Regions from separate parts of the Homo sapiens genome. Here all the other regions are linked to region 2. Evidence: promoter capture Hi-C in 16 types of primary human blood cells and fetal thymus (Javierre and others, 2016). All regions are on one chromosome and are shown on one strand. Each heading gives the region's core, a stretch centred on a gene start or on the middle of the fragment in contact. The rest is flanking DNA. Distances are from core to core; before and after follow the strand shown. Region 1 overlaps PPP2R5C (protein phosphatase 2 regulatory subunit B'gamma). Region 2 holds the start of LINC00239 (long intergenic non-protein coding RNA 239). Region 3 overlaps PPP2R5C (protein phosphatase 2 regulatory subunit B'gamma).

Region 1 (3,717 bases), core at 414-2,913, 180 kb before region 2:
ATTTGAGTTTCCTGATTGCAGTTTTATCAGAGTATACAAACCAGTATGTTGTTATATAGGTAAAGATATACTTTTAACTTTATATTCATGTATAACTTTTTATTAAGTGTCAGAGAAATCTAAAAACCAACTTAGGTAACTATGCATATCTCTCACTAAAAGAAATACATTGTTCGGTAAAATCTTTTCTGGAGAGTTGAAGGAAAGCTTGAGAATTCTTAAGAGTGGCAAAGATTCAGACAAAAGATTTTCTGAAAAAGATTTTCTTTTTAAGAGGCACTGTTATAATCAGGCACACAGAACGTGAAGAAACTGTCATAACGCTCTAGTCATTTACAGCAGCGTACATCAAACCCAAAGACCATGACACCAGGAAACCCTCCCGGACCCTGGCAGCCCCGGCAGCTGGAACTGCCGGCAGCTCCGGGACGTCCGGCCATCGGCGCAGACTCACCAGAGCACACTGGCACCCGCTGCTGGGGTGGGAAGGAGGGTTGGCTGCTAATGTGGCAGAATTCAGCTGATTTTTAATGATAAAAGGCTGGGCTTACAGAAACCTCATACAAAGAAAGAGGACATCAAAACGTCATACTTAATCTATTTCCAATCTAATTTCCTTTCTTTTAGAACTAATTTCATATGAAAAAGAAAGGGAAATGCTGTTTGAGTGACAGCATCTATGATATCTGAGAGAGGAGGCACAGTCTCAGGCTGTATTCAAGTTTTCTTTTTACCACAGTATATGCATAAGATTCAGATCTTATTTAAAAAGCAGAGGAAAAAAGTCAATTCTGTGGTAAAACGATATGGGGCAAAATAAGTACTTGTACAAAAGGAGGGTTACAAAGTTTAAAAGTACTTTTTATTGCAGACATTTTCATATACAACGTTAGTGAAATCGAGACCCCCCCCATGGTGAAGACATATATTCCTATCTTATAAAAACATTCAAGTAACCCTGGGCGTTTTCATGTTATTCTCTTTTTTAGTACCTGGGGATTGGCTTTGGCTAGATTTTCTATTTTAACCCATGCTTCTTCCCGTTCTTTCATTTTTAGCTTCTCTCTGAAAAACAGTAAAATGTCATCTGTGTTAGAGATGCATCAGACACAAGAACACACTGAAGGGGAAAAGGCACAGGCATGTTGAGCCCAGCCAGCGGCTCCTCCCGCAGCCCCCCTGCTCCATTTCCCCACACTTACGTGCTGAGCACAGCATGAAAAACGAACTGAGATTTAAACATGAGAAAATATAAAAAAATTTAACATGTCCAAGATTGGAATTCTTAAAAGAAATCTTATATAAGTACGTCTTATGTCTCAATCCTTCCCCCTTCCCCTGGTTAGATGTTTCTTCATGGGACCCACATAATTTTGACAAGAAGCTCATATATCCACTGAAAAAACGAGTATGCAGTACAGTGTAAAGGGACCAGTACTGTAAAAGGAGCCAGCATTCCCATTCCTATAATATTAAAAAGGAAACGTCTTAAGAGCCAGGAGACCTGGGTTGTTGACTGACTCCACTGCGAGTCACATGACTTTCAATCGCTTAACTCAGATCCAAGTTTTTTTTTTTTTTTGAGACAGGGCCTCACTCTGTCGCCCAGACTGGAGTGCAGTAGCAGGATCTTGGCTCACTGCAACCTCCACCTCCCGAGCTCAAGCAATTCTCCTGCCTCAACCTCCCGAGTAGCTGGGATTACAGGTGCGTGCTACTACCGCCCGGCTAATTTTCGTACTTTTAGTAGAGATGGGGTTTCACAATATTGGCCAGGCTGGTCTCGAACTCCTGACCTCAAATGATCCACCAGCCATAACCTCCCAAAGTGCTGGGATTACAGGTGTGAGCCACTGCGCCCGGCCAGGATCCAAGTTTTTCAACCCAGAAAATGTACTACACAACCTTTAAGGTCCTGTTGGGAAAGCTGTGGGATTCCACGAGAGGAGGATCTGCCATCAGAAGGCCCTGCTGCTTGCATGCTTCCTACCTGCGAACTGCACTGAGAGCTGAGATGAGAACAGACCATGCAGCTGGCAGCTCTAGAGGAATGGCTGGTCTGTCTCCCCGGCCCTTTCCTGACTGACTTGTCATCTCTCATGCTCTATAGTTCACTTAGGTGTATTTTGTGTTCTTTTATTTCCCCACACTACCCAGAATATAAACCCCAAAAGGGCAAGGATTTTTTTTTTGAGACGGAGTCTCGCTCTGTCGCCCAGGCTGGAGTGCAGTGGCGTGATCTTGGCTCACTGCAAGCTCCGCCTCCAGGTTCACGCCATCCTCCTGCCTCAGCCCGAGTAGCTGGGACTACAGGCACCCGCCACCACACCCGGCTGATTTTTTTTTGTATTTTTTTTTTTTTTGAGACGGAGTCTCTCTCTGTCTCCCAGGCTGGAGTGCAGTGGTGTGAGCTCAGCTCACTGCAAGCTCCGCCTCCCAGGTTCACACCATTCTCCTGCCTCAGACTCTGAGTAGCTGGGACCACAGGCGCCTGCCACCACGCCCGGCTAATTTTTTGTATTTTCAGTAGAGACGGGGTTTCACTGTGTTCGCCAGGCTTGTCTCGAACTCCTGACCTCAGGTGATCTGCCTGCTTTGGCCTCCCAAAGTGCTGGGATTACAGGCATGAGCCACCATGCCCGGCCTTTTTTTTTGTATTTTTAGTAGAGACGGGGTTTCATTGTGTTAGCCAGGATGGTCTCGATCTCCTGACCTCGTGATCTGCCTGCATCGGCCTCCCAAAGCGCTGGGATTACAGGCATGAGCCACCACGCCTGGCCCTTTTTTGGTATTTTTTAGTAGAGATGGGGTTTCACCGTGTTAGCCAGCATGGTCTCAATCTCCTGACCTTGTGATCCACCCGCCTTGGCCTCCCAAAGTGCTGGGATTACAGGCGTGAGCCACCGCACCCGGCCCAGGGGCAAGGATTTTTGTGGGTTTTATTCATTGCTATATTGCCAGAATCTAAAACAGGGCCTGGTGTATAAGGTAAATATTCACATATTTGTCTAAGGAATGACTAAATGGCAGTTGTTTCATATATATACACACACACACACACACATAGATACACACATATGTATACAGTGTATTTTGAATTACATTCGTGCAAAGCTTATCTACCTTAGCCAGTTTTAAGTGACAAGCAAAAAATAAAATCTGCCAATAGTCCATACTCAACTTGGAAGAAGTGACCTCCAACAACTATTTAATCACATTATTACTTGCACAGCCTAGGGACGAAGTACTTTGTCACTTAGATCATCCCTGGACACATGTGGGCTCAAAGGCACGAGGGCAGGACCCTGATTTTGCAAAGGACAGACTAGATTCCAGAGAACACCCACATCGCTGAGTTCATTAAATCAGAATAAAGCTACATTGAAATGAAGATTCTTGCTCTCTGGGATAAACCTTATAGGATATAATTCAAATCCCTGCCTTATAAACATGAAAATGGACTACACATTATAGCCTTTAAGCCCATTATAGCCCAAGAAAAGAAAAAATTCTGAATGTTAAATTCTTGCTTACATAAGCACTTTTTGCAAAGATGATTAATCTGGCAATACAAGGGGGGAGAATAGCTACCTTTAAACACCTGTTCTTTCAAAATACGTTATTATAACACAGTTTTAATTTGCTTTCCAAGTATGAAAGGCTTGGTTTTGCTTTCGAGTGAAGAATACCGTTTTAGGACAAAACAGTGGAAGAGGT
Region 2 (3,611 bases), core at 864-3,363:
TAATAAATCTGCTGGTTTCTATTCTTCTCCCTTTGCAGACTGAGTTTTTATTATTTTGATCCCAGTACCCATTAGAAACACAGTGTCTAAATATTGAAATGCTTTGCTTCAAAAGCTGCTAAGATACAGTGGCAAAGGTAGCCTTGCAATGAGGTTTTATCTCCAGAGTCCCAAGTTTTTGAGACAAATCCAATGACGCAGATCTTGTGGTCAAGGATGATGCAATGGCGCTCCAGGAACAATATCAGGCTCTGTGACTTGGGTGCCTTCTGGGTGTGTGGCGTGGTCTCGGTCTGACAATCTCTAGAACAACCCTACGAGGTGGTAATTATTATTCTCATGCTGCAAGGGATATCTCCCACCTCCTAGGTGGACTCAGGTCTTGTGGGGCTTAATGCTTTTAAATTTGGGCTGCCTTTTGAAGGGAAAAGACTACAAAATTATGAATACAAAATGAGGTTAAGGTCTTGGGAGGGGCCCATGCAAGCTGGGGGCTCTGCAGGTAAGCTTGTTTAGCTTCCCAGCAAATCCACCTCTGAGCTTGCAAATTACAAAGCTGGAATTTGAACTCACATCTGCTGGATGCAAAGTCCGAGGTCTTCCTGTAGCATGACCGTCTTCCTGTGTGATGAGAAACATCAGGCTGCCGAGGCCAAACAGTGGGTGCGTCACTTTCCAATGAGGCAGGTGTGCGGGACAGGAAGTGGGAGGTTCTCCTTGCAGGGGAGCGGCTGCTGCCAACATCCCAGCTGGTACCTGTCCCTGAGAATGGTTTGGCAGGTGGGGGCCACTTGAAGTCTCTGCTCCTACACCCCGTCACCCCTCCCAGGCTGCTTTCAGAGGAGGGCAAAGGGTATTCATTCCAGCCTCCAATTTCTTCCTCCCACTCCTCGAAAGCATTTAAGTGAGGAAGGCAGGGAAAACGTAGATGATTCTGCTATTGACAGGAGGCCTTTTTTTCCTGCTGGAAGTAAAAGGAGACACTCTAGCTGGGCAGCCAGCCCCACCCTCCAGGGCTCCATCTGGCCTGGCTGAGGCTGGCCAGCCCCTGCTGTGCATGGAGGGGTGCTGGGAAGCCTACCTTGCTTCACACTTTCCTCTTCCACACCCGGCCTGTGACTCATGCCTGAAACGCCTCCGTTCAAGCAATTCTTCCTTTTATTGTGAAGCACTGCTCTCTTCCGGCTCCTCCCCTAAGTCACCACGCAGGGGAGATTTAAGGGAGAGGTTATTTCCCCACCGTGTTCAGGGACAACCCTGTGATCATGGTTTTGGTCACATAGCTTCCAAGTGAGTGTTGTGCAAACATTTGCTAGGATCTCTCGGGGAGCCTGTTAGAAAAGAAACTCCTGAGCCTGCTCCAGAGCTTCTGTTCAGCAGGCCTGAGGTGGGACCATACACCTGTCTTTTCAGCAAGCCCCCCCCCACCTCTGAGGATGCACCCCAAAGCTAGAGAATTCCTGCTCTGAGCCATCTCTGAAAGCACCAAGAGCCAGGTTTGGTTTTTTGTTGTTGTTGTTGTTGTTGTTGTTGTTTTGTTTTTTTTTTAATTACACCCAGACCTGGGTACCTGAGCAATCACTGTCTCTGGAATCAGTGCAAAGTTACCGGGAGCTGCAGAGGCCCAGACAGACTGGAAGAGGGGAGAGCTTGGCTCTAACCCATGCAGCCTCCCCATTGCCCAAGTCCACCCCCAGACCACCTCCCTGCATTCAACCACGAGCTTTGTAGAGGGCAGGCATGCCCCAGGGGCTCTCAGCATCACCCCCCTGCCCCTACCTGTGACCAGAGTCTCCCTGGACTCTCAGCTCTGTCTTCCCAACTCGAAGAGCCTGCCAGGCCCCACCTGGGTACCCTTGTCCATACTGTAGCTTGGAAACCCTCTCAAGAAAGGAAGCTGGGTTAATTGCAGGCTCACTTTATTTTCCACATTCTCAGAAATCATTGTGCCTAGTTACCTGATATCCAGTGTATTAGTCTGTCCTCATGCTGCTGATAAAGACATACCCGAGACTGGGTAAATTATAAGGAAAAACAGGTTTAATAGGTTTAATGGACTCACAGTTCCACGGGCCTGGGGAAGCCTTACAATCATGGCAGAAGGTGAAAGGCACATCTTATATGGTGGTGGACAAGAGAGAATGGAACCAAGTGGAGAGGGAAACCCCTTATAAAACCATCAGATCTCGTGAGACTTGTTCACTACCACGAGAACAGTATGGGGGAAACCACCCCCATGATTCAAATATCTCCCACCAGGTCCCTCCCACAACACATGGGAATTATGGGAGCTACAATTCAAGATGAGATTTGGGTGGGGACATAGCAAAACCATATCATCCAGTGTCTTGAGAACTCTTGTTTTATATATTTGGTCCAATTTATTTTGACTTTTTCAGGCAGGAGAGGAAATCCAGTCTCTACATTCCGTCTTGTTTGGGAGTGAAAGTGTTCATTTTCTTTTAAAACAGACAATATCCTTCCAAATCTATAGTTAGTTCACTCATCCATCACTCATCCATAACCACTGTTAATATTTTGGTCTACATTCTAAGATATTTTTTTTCTGTGCATATGCGTGCACGTAGCAGGGTCACAAAATCACTCACAATACATCAGATGTGCAAAGAAAATAGAGTGTCTTCATTTTCCTACTTAATTAATCTGATCTTTCTTGAAAGGTACTCTCTGCTGGGTAATACAATGGGGAGAAACATCCATTCTAGTAACCTTGGTCTAATACAAACATTTAACCAGTTCTTTGAGCAGCTCAGCATTCTGAGGCTGAAGTGTTTGGCCAGTGGGGCTTCTGATGGCTGCCACTGTCTACTCCTCTACTCCAGATTGTGTCTGGGCACACAGCTGGTGGGCTGCAGGATTTGGGGGTTCTTTTGGTAGCCAGGAGGAAGGGGTCCTCTGGTCCACACATGTTCTCCAAGTTTCCCTGAGTTTGGCTGCAGAGCAGTTGGCCTGGGCTACTCCATGGAACGGAGTGGTGGCTGTCGAGGAGCAATGAGTCATGGGAGATCAGGTCACGTAGGGTCTTGTGGGCACTGCGAAGACTCTGGCTTTATTTTTCTTTTTTGAGACAAGGTCTCGCTCTGTCACCCATGCTGGAGTGCAGTGGCATGATCTTGGCTCACTACAGCCTCGACCTCCCAAGTTCACGCAATCCTCCTGCCTCAGCACCTCAAGTAGTTGGGATTACAGCCATGCGCCCCTACACATGGCTAATTTTTGTACTTTTTGTAGAGATGGGGTTTCACCATGTTGCCCAGGCTGGTCTTGAACTCCTGAGCTTAAGTGATCTGCCCACCTTGGCCTCCCAAAGTGTTGGGATTACAGGCATGAGCCACCGCACCTGGCCAAGACTTTGGATTTTATCCCAAATGAAATAGGGAAGCCACTGGAGGGCTTCAATGTGGTGGTAGGAGGCAAATACTGATTGAAAAGGTTCAAGAGAAAATGGGAGGAGAAAAATTGAAGATAATAAGAATAGATACTTCCAGCTGGGTGCAGGGGCTCACACCTATAAGCTCAGCACTTTGGGAAGTTGAGGTAGGGATTGCTTGAGGCCAAGAGTTCCAGAGCAACCTGGGAAACATAGCAAG
Region 3 (3,719 bases), core at 201-2,700, 140 kb before region 2:
AGAATCACTTGAACACAGGAGGCGGAGGTTGCAGTGAGCTGATATGGTGCCACTGCACTCCAGCCAGGCAACAGAGACTCCGTCTCAAAAACAAACAAACAAACAAACAAACAAAACCAAAAGAAACTGTTCTATATCCTGACTGTGGTGCGGAAGACGTGACTATACACATTTATCAAAGTTCCGAGAACTGGCCACAAGAAAGAGTGAATTTCACTATATGTAAATAAAAAATTAATTTAAAAAAAGTTATGGAAAGATATTCACTAGGTCATAAGTTCCCAAAACTTCTTGGTTCACAATGCCCTTGGTGTCTTAGTAATTTCTTCACTGCACCCCTAGACCAAAAGAAATACCTAACAAGTTTGGACATCTGAAAACACCCAGCTTTACTGAGATATAATTTATATACAATTAAATGTACATATTTAAAGTGTAAAATTTGATATTTAACATATGCATATATCTGTGAAACAATCATATAATCAGATAATGAACATACTCATCATCCCAAAAGTTTCTCAGCAGCCTTCTGAAAATACAATAAACATGAATTGGCTGATTGGAGGTAGAGATGGGTAGAACTGGGGAGGGGTGAAGTAGGAAAAAGATTAACTTTTTAAAATGCTTTCGTATTTGTTTCATTTGTTATCACATAAGCATGTATTTCTTTTATAATTTAAAAACATCAAAGGAAAATCTCAAAATCGTAAGAACAAACAAACCTCTAAAAAACAGCTTACTGATATTTAAAGTAGAAAAATCATTCTCTGGATTTCAAAAAGTACTTGGGAATGCATGATTTAAATCCTCACTTGAAATAAATTTGACTGCAACTCCATTGGTCAATGTACTATCCCTCTTAATTCAACACATTCTTTCCTCTCCCAAACTATCATCACCCTTATAGCAAGTAAAACTTTCCAGAACACACTGTAAATATCAGCTATAAAAATAGAAGAAGGAACGTGCCCCACATCAGTCCCTAAGTGAAGCACAGGACACCCATCTGGGGGTGCAGGGTGTGAGACCTCCCCCAGGACCCGGCCAACAGATCCTAAGAACACTCTCATGCCCATAAAACGTGTAAGTCAACATCAAATCACTTACAGACAGTGCGGATTAAAATAATGTGATCAACTAGTTTTCCCTGGAAACCAACAAGAGTCCTGATAAAAACAGTACTATATTACATACGGATAGCTTGTTTTTATTTTATCTTTTTAATTAATTAATTAATTTTTTTGATGGAATCTTGCTCTGTCGCTCAGGCTGGAGTGCAGTGGTGCAATCTTGGCTCACTGCAACCTCCACCTCCAGGGTTCCAGCAATCCTTCTGCCTCAGCCTCCCGAGTAGCTGGGACTACAGGTGCCCGCCACCATGCCTGGCTAATTTTCATATTTTTAGTAGAGATGAGGTTACACCATACTGGTCAGGCTGGTCTCGAGCTCCTGACCTCAGGTGATCCACCTGCCTCGGCTTCCCAAAGTGCTGGGATTACAGGCATGAGCTACCGCGCCTGGCCGCTTGTTTTTATTTTTAAGAAAGAAAAATATCTTTACTGGTTTTTGATGATGACAAATGTGGTACATAATTATTAATTTTTTTTTTTGAGGCAGAGTCTTGCTCTGTTGCCCAGGTAGGAGTGCAGTGGCACAATCATACCTCATTGCAGCCTTAAGCTCCTGAGCTCAAACAAGCCTCCCACCTCAGCCCCGACCGAGTAGCTAGGCATATAGGTGCAGGCGTGCGCCACCACACCCAGCTATTAAAAAACTTTCTCTTTCTTCTTGCTTTTTTTTTTTTGACAGAGTCTCGCTCTGTCGCCCAGGCTGGAGTACAGTTGCATGATCTCAGCTTACTGCAACCTCTGCCTCCTGGGTTCAAGCAATTCTCTTGCCTCAGCCTCCCGAGTAGCTGAGATTACAGGCATGCGCCACCACGCCTGGCTAATTTTTGTAATTTTAGTAGAGACAGGGTTCCACCACGTTGGCCAGGCTGCTCTTGAACTCCTAACTTCAGGTGATCTGTCCGCTTCAGCCTCCCAAAGTGCTGGGATTACAGGTGTGAGCCACCGTGCCCGGCCTAAAAAAATTTTTTTTGTAGACACAAGGTCTTGCTACGTTGCCCAGGCTGGTCTCCAACTCCTGATCTCAAGTGATCCTCCTGCCCTGGCCTCCCAAAGTTGGATTATAGGCATGAGCCACTGTGCCTGGCCCATTCTGAATTTTTTTAAAAATTACAAAAGTGTATAGTAAAAGGGAAAAATTAATGATACCACCCAAAGACACCTACTATTAACAGTTTGTACTATATTCCTTCAGCTTTTTTATTTATTTATTTATTTTTTTGAGACGGAGTCTTGCTCTGTCCGTCAGGTTGGAGCACAGTAGCGTGATCTTGGCTCACTGCAACCTCCGCCTCCAGGGTTTAAGCGATTCTCCTGCCTCAGCCTCCCAAGTAGCTGGGATTACAGGTGTGCAACACCATGCCCAGCTAATTTTTGTATTTTTAGTAGAGATGGGGTTTCACCATGTTGGCGAGGCCTTCAGCTTTATTTTAAAAATCTATCGATAAAATGGAACCAAATCAATCTGTGGTGTGGATGGTGCCACAGGGCTGGGTCACCGTACTCTGTAGAGTATTTCACAAGTTACTTTCTCTCCCTAAGTTTGATTTTATTTTCATGAATTTATTTATATGTTACAAACATGAAATCATACTTCAGACCATGTATTTTTAATCTTCCAATCACCATTTAAACTAATCTAACTAACTCTCTATGAAGTAGTTCCACAGCATGATAACTTTCTAAATAAGAAAATAGAGGCTGGGCGCTGGCTCACGCCAGTTATCCCAGTACTCTGGGAGGCTGAGGTGGGCAGATCACCTGAGATCAGGAGTTTGAGATCATCCTGGCCAACATGGTGAAACCCTGTCTCTATTAAAAATACAAAAATTAGCTGGGTGTGGTGGCGCATGCCTGTAATCCCAGCTACTTGGGAGGCTGAGGCAGGAGAATTACTTGAACCTGGGAGGTTGCAGTGAGCCGAGATTACGCCACTGCACTCCAGCCTGGCGACAGAGAAAGACTCTGTCTCAAAAAAAAGTTAAGTAACCTCAAGATATCAGAGTCTGGAGCGAGAATTAGAAATAAGTCCCGTACGAATATGAAGAAAGAAGGCTGCATTGAGGCGTCCCCCTGGTAAGCATTCTGAGAAATCTTGGAGGCTTGTCTCTTTCTGGCCACTTCCGAGGACACTGACAACTTTGTCACGGGGGCTGCCCAAGCTTTCCATGTGTTCCCCTTTCATCCTAGCTGCTCTGTGAGGCAGAAGCATTACAGCTATTTGTCTGCAGCAGACAGAACCAAGCTTGCAGAACCAAGCCGTTCACCCAAAGTAGCACAGTTAGCAGATTAAAGTTGGGTACAGATCCGACCGTTTCATCTGCCCAGAGAAGCACACGACTCCCTCCCTTCTGGGGAATTCTTGCTCCTTGACTCTATCGCATGGTTTGGTGGGCACATGACCCAGTCTGAGTCACAACCACAGTACCCCATCTCCCTAGTTACGGCAACGGGATCAAGGGCAGGTAGGAGACAGGAGACATCAGGCCTCTTCTGGCAAGCCAGCAAGGGCCATGCTTTCCTCTGTCATCATAGAGGGATGCCCCAAAGAAGGAAGGCTGCATACAGAGAGCGGGGACATGGGACACG

What was found. The method cuts DNA at HindIII sites, captures the fragments that hold promoters and counts their contacts. A CHiCAGO score of 5 or more calls a contact.
Region 1: a fragment that was not itself captured here is called in contact with the fragment with the promoter of LINC00239 in region 2 in 1 of 17 cell types (total CD8 T cells); the score reaches 5.0 in total CD8 T cells.
Region 3: a contact is called between a fragment that was not itself captured here and the fragment with the promoter of LINC00239 in region 2, in 3 of 17 cell types (total CD8 T cells, total CD4 T cells and naive CD4 T cells). The highest score is 6.5, in total CD8 T cells.

Annotation. Positions count from the first base shown.
Region 1 is chr14:101,909,749-101,913,465 of GRCh38, reverse strand. PPP2R5C (protein phosphatase 2 regulatory subunit B'gamma) reads right to left here. Exons shown (of 16, transcript NM_001352913.2): 14 at 993-1,065. Among named protein-coding and RNA genes, the nearest start is that of DYNC1H1, 53 kb to the left of the region's middle. The HindIII fragment of the contact is 2,907 bases long and covers 210-3,116 here.
Region 2 is chr14:101,728,939-101,732,549 of GRCh38, reverse strand. It overlaps LINC00239 (long intergenic non-protein coding RNA 239), which reads right to left and starts at 2,113. Exons shown (of 4, transcript NR_026774.1): 1 at 2,063-2,113; 2 at 1,082-1,193; 3 at 574-762; 4 at 25-314. LINC02320 (long intergenic non-protein coding RNA 2320) reads left to right here and starts at 1,244. Exons shown (of 6, transcript NR_184269.1): 1 at 1,244-1,496. RefSeq lists enhancers at 547-646, 1,377-1,436, 479-1,678. The HindIII fragment of the contact is 16,455 bases long and covers 510-3,611 here.
Region 3 is chr14:101,865,303-101,869,021 of GRCh38, reverse strand. The region is part of intron 4 of PPP2R5C (protein phosphatase 2 regulatory subunit B'gamma); the gene reads right to left. Among named protein-coding and RNA genes, the nearest start is that of DYNC1H1, 97 kb to the left of the region's middle. The HindIII fragment of the contact is 3,689 bases long and covers 1-3,294 here.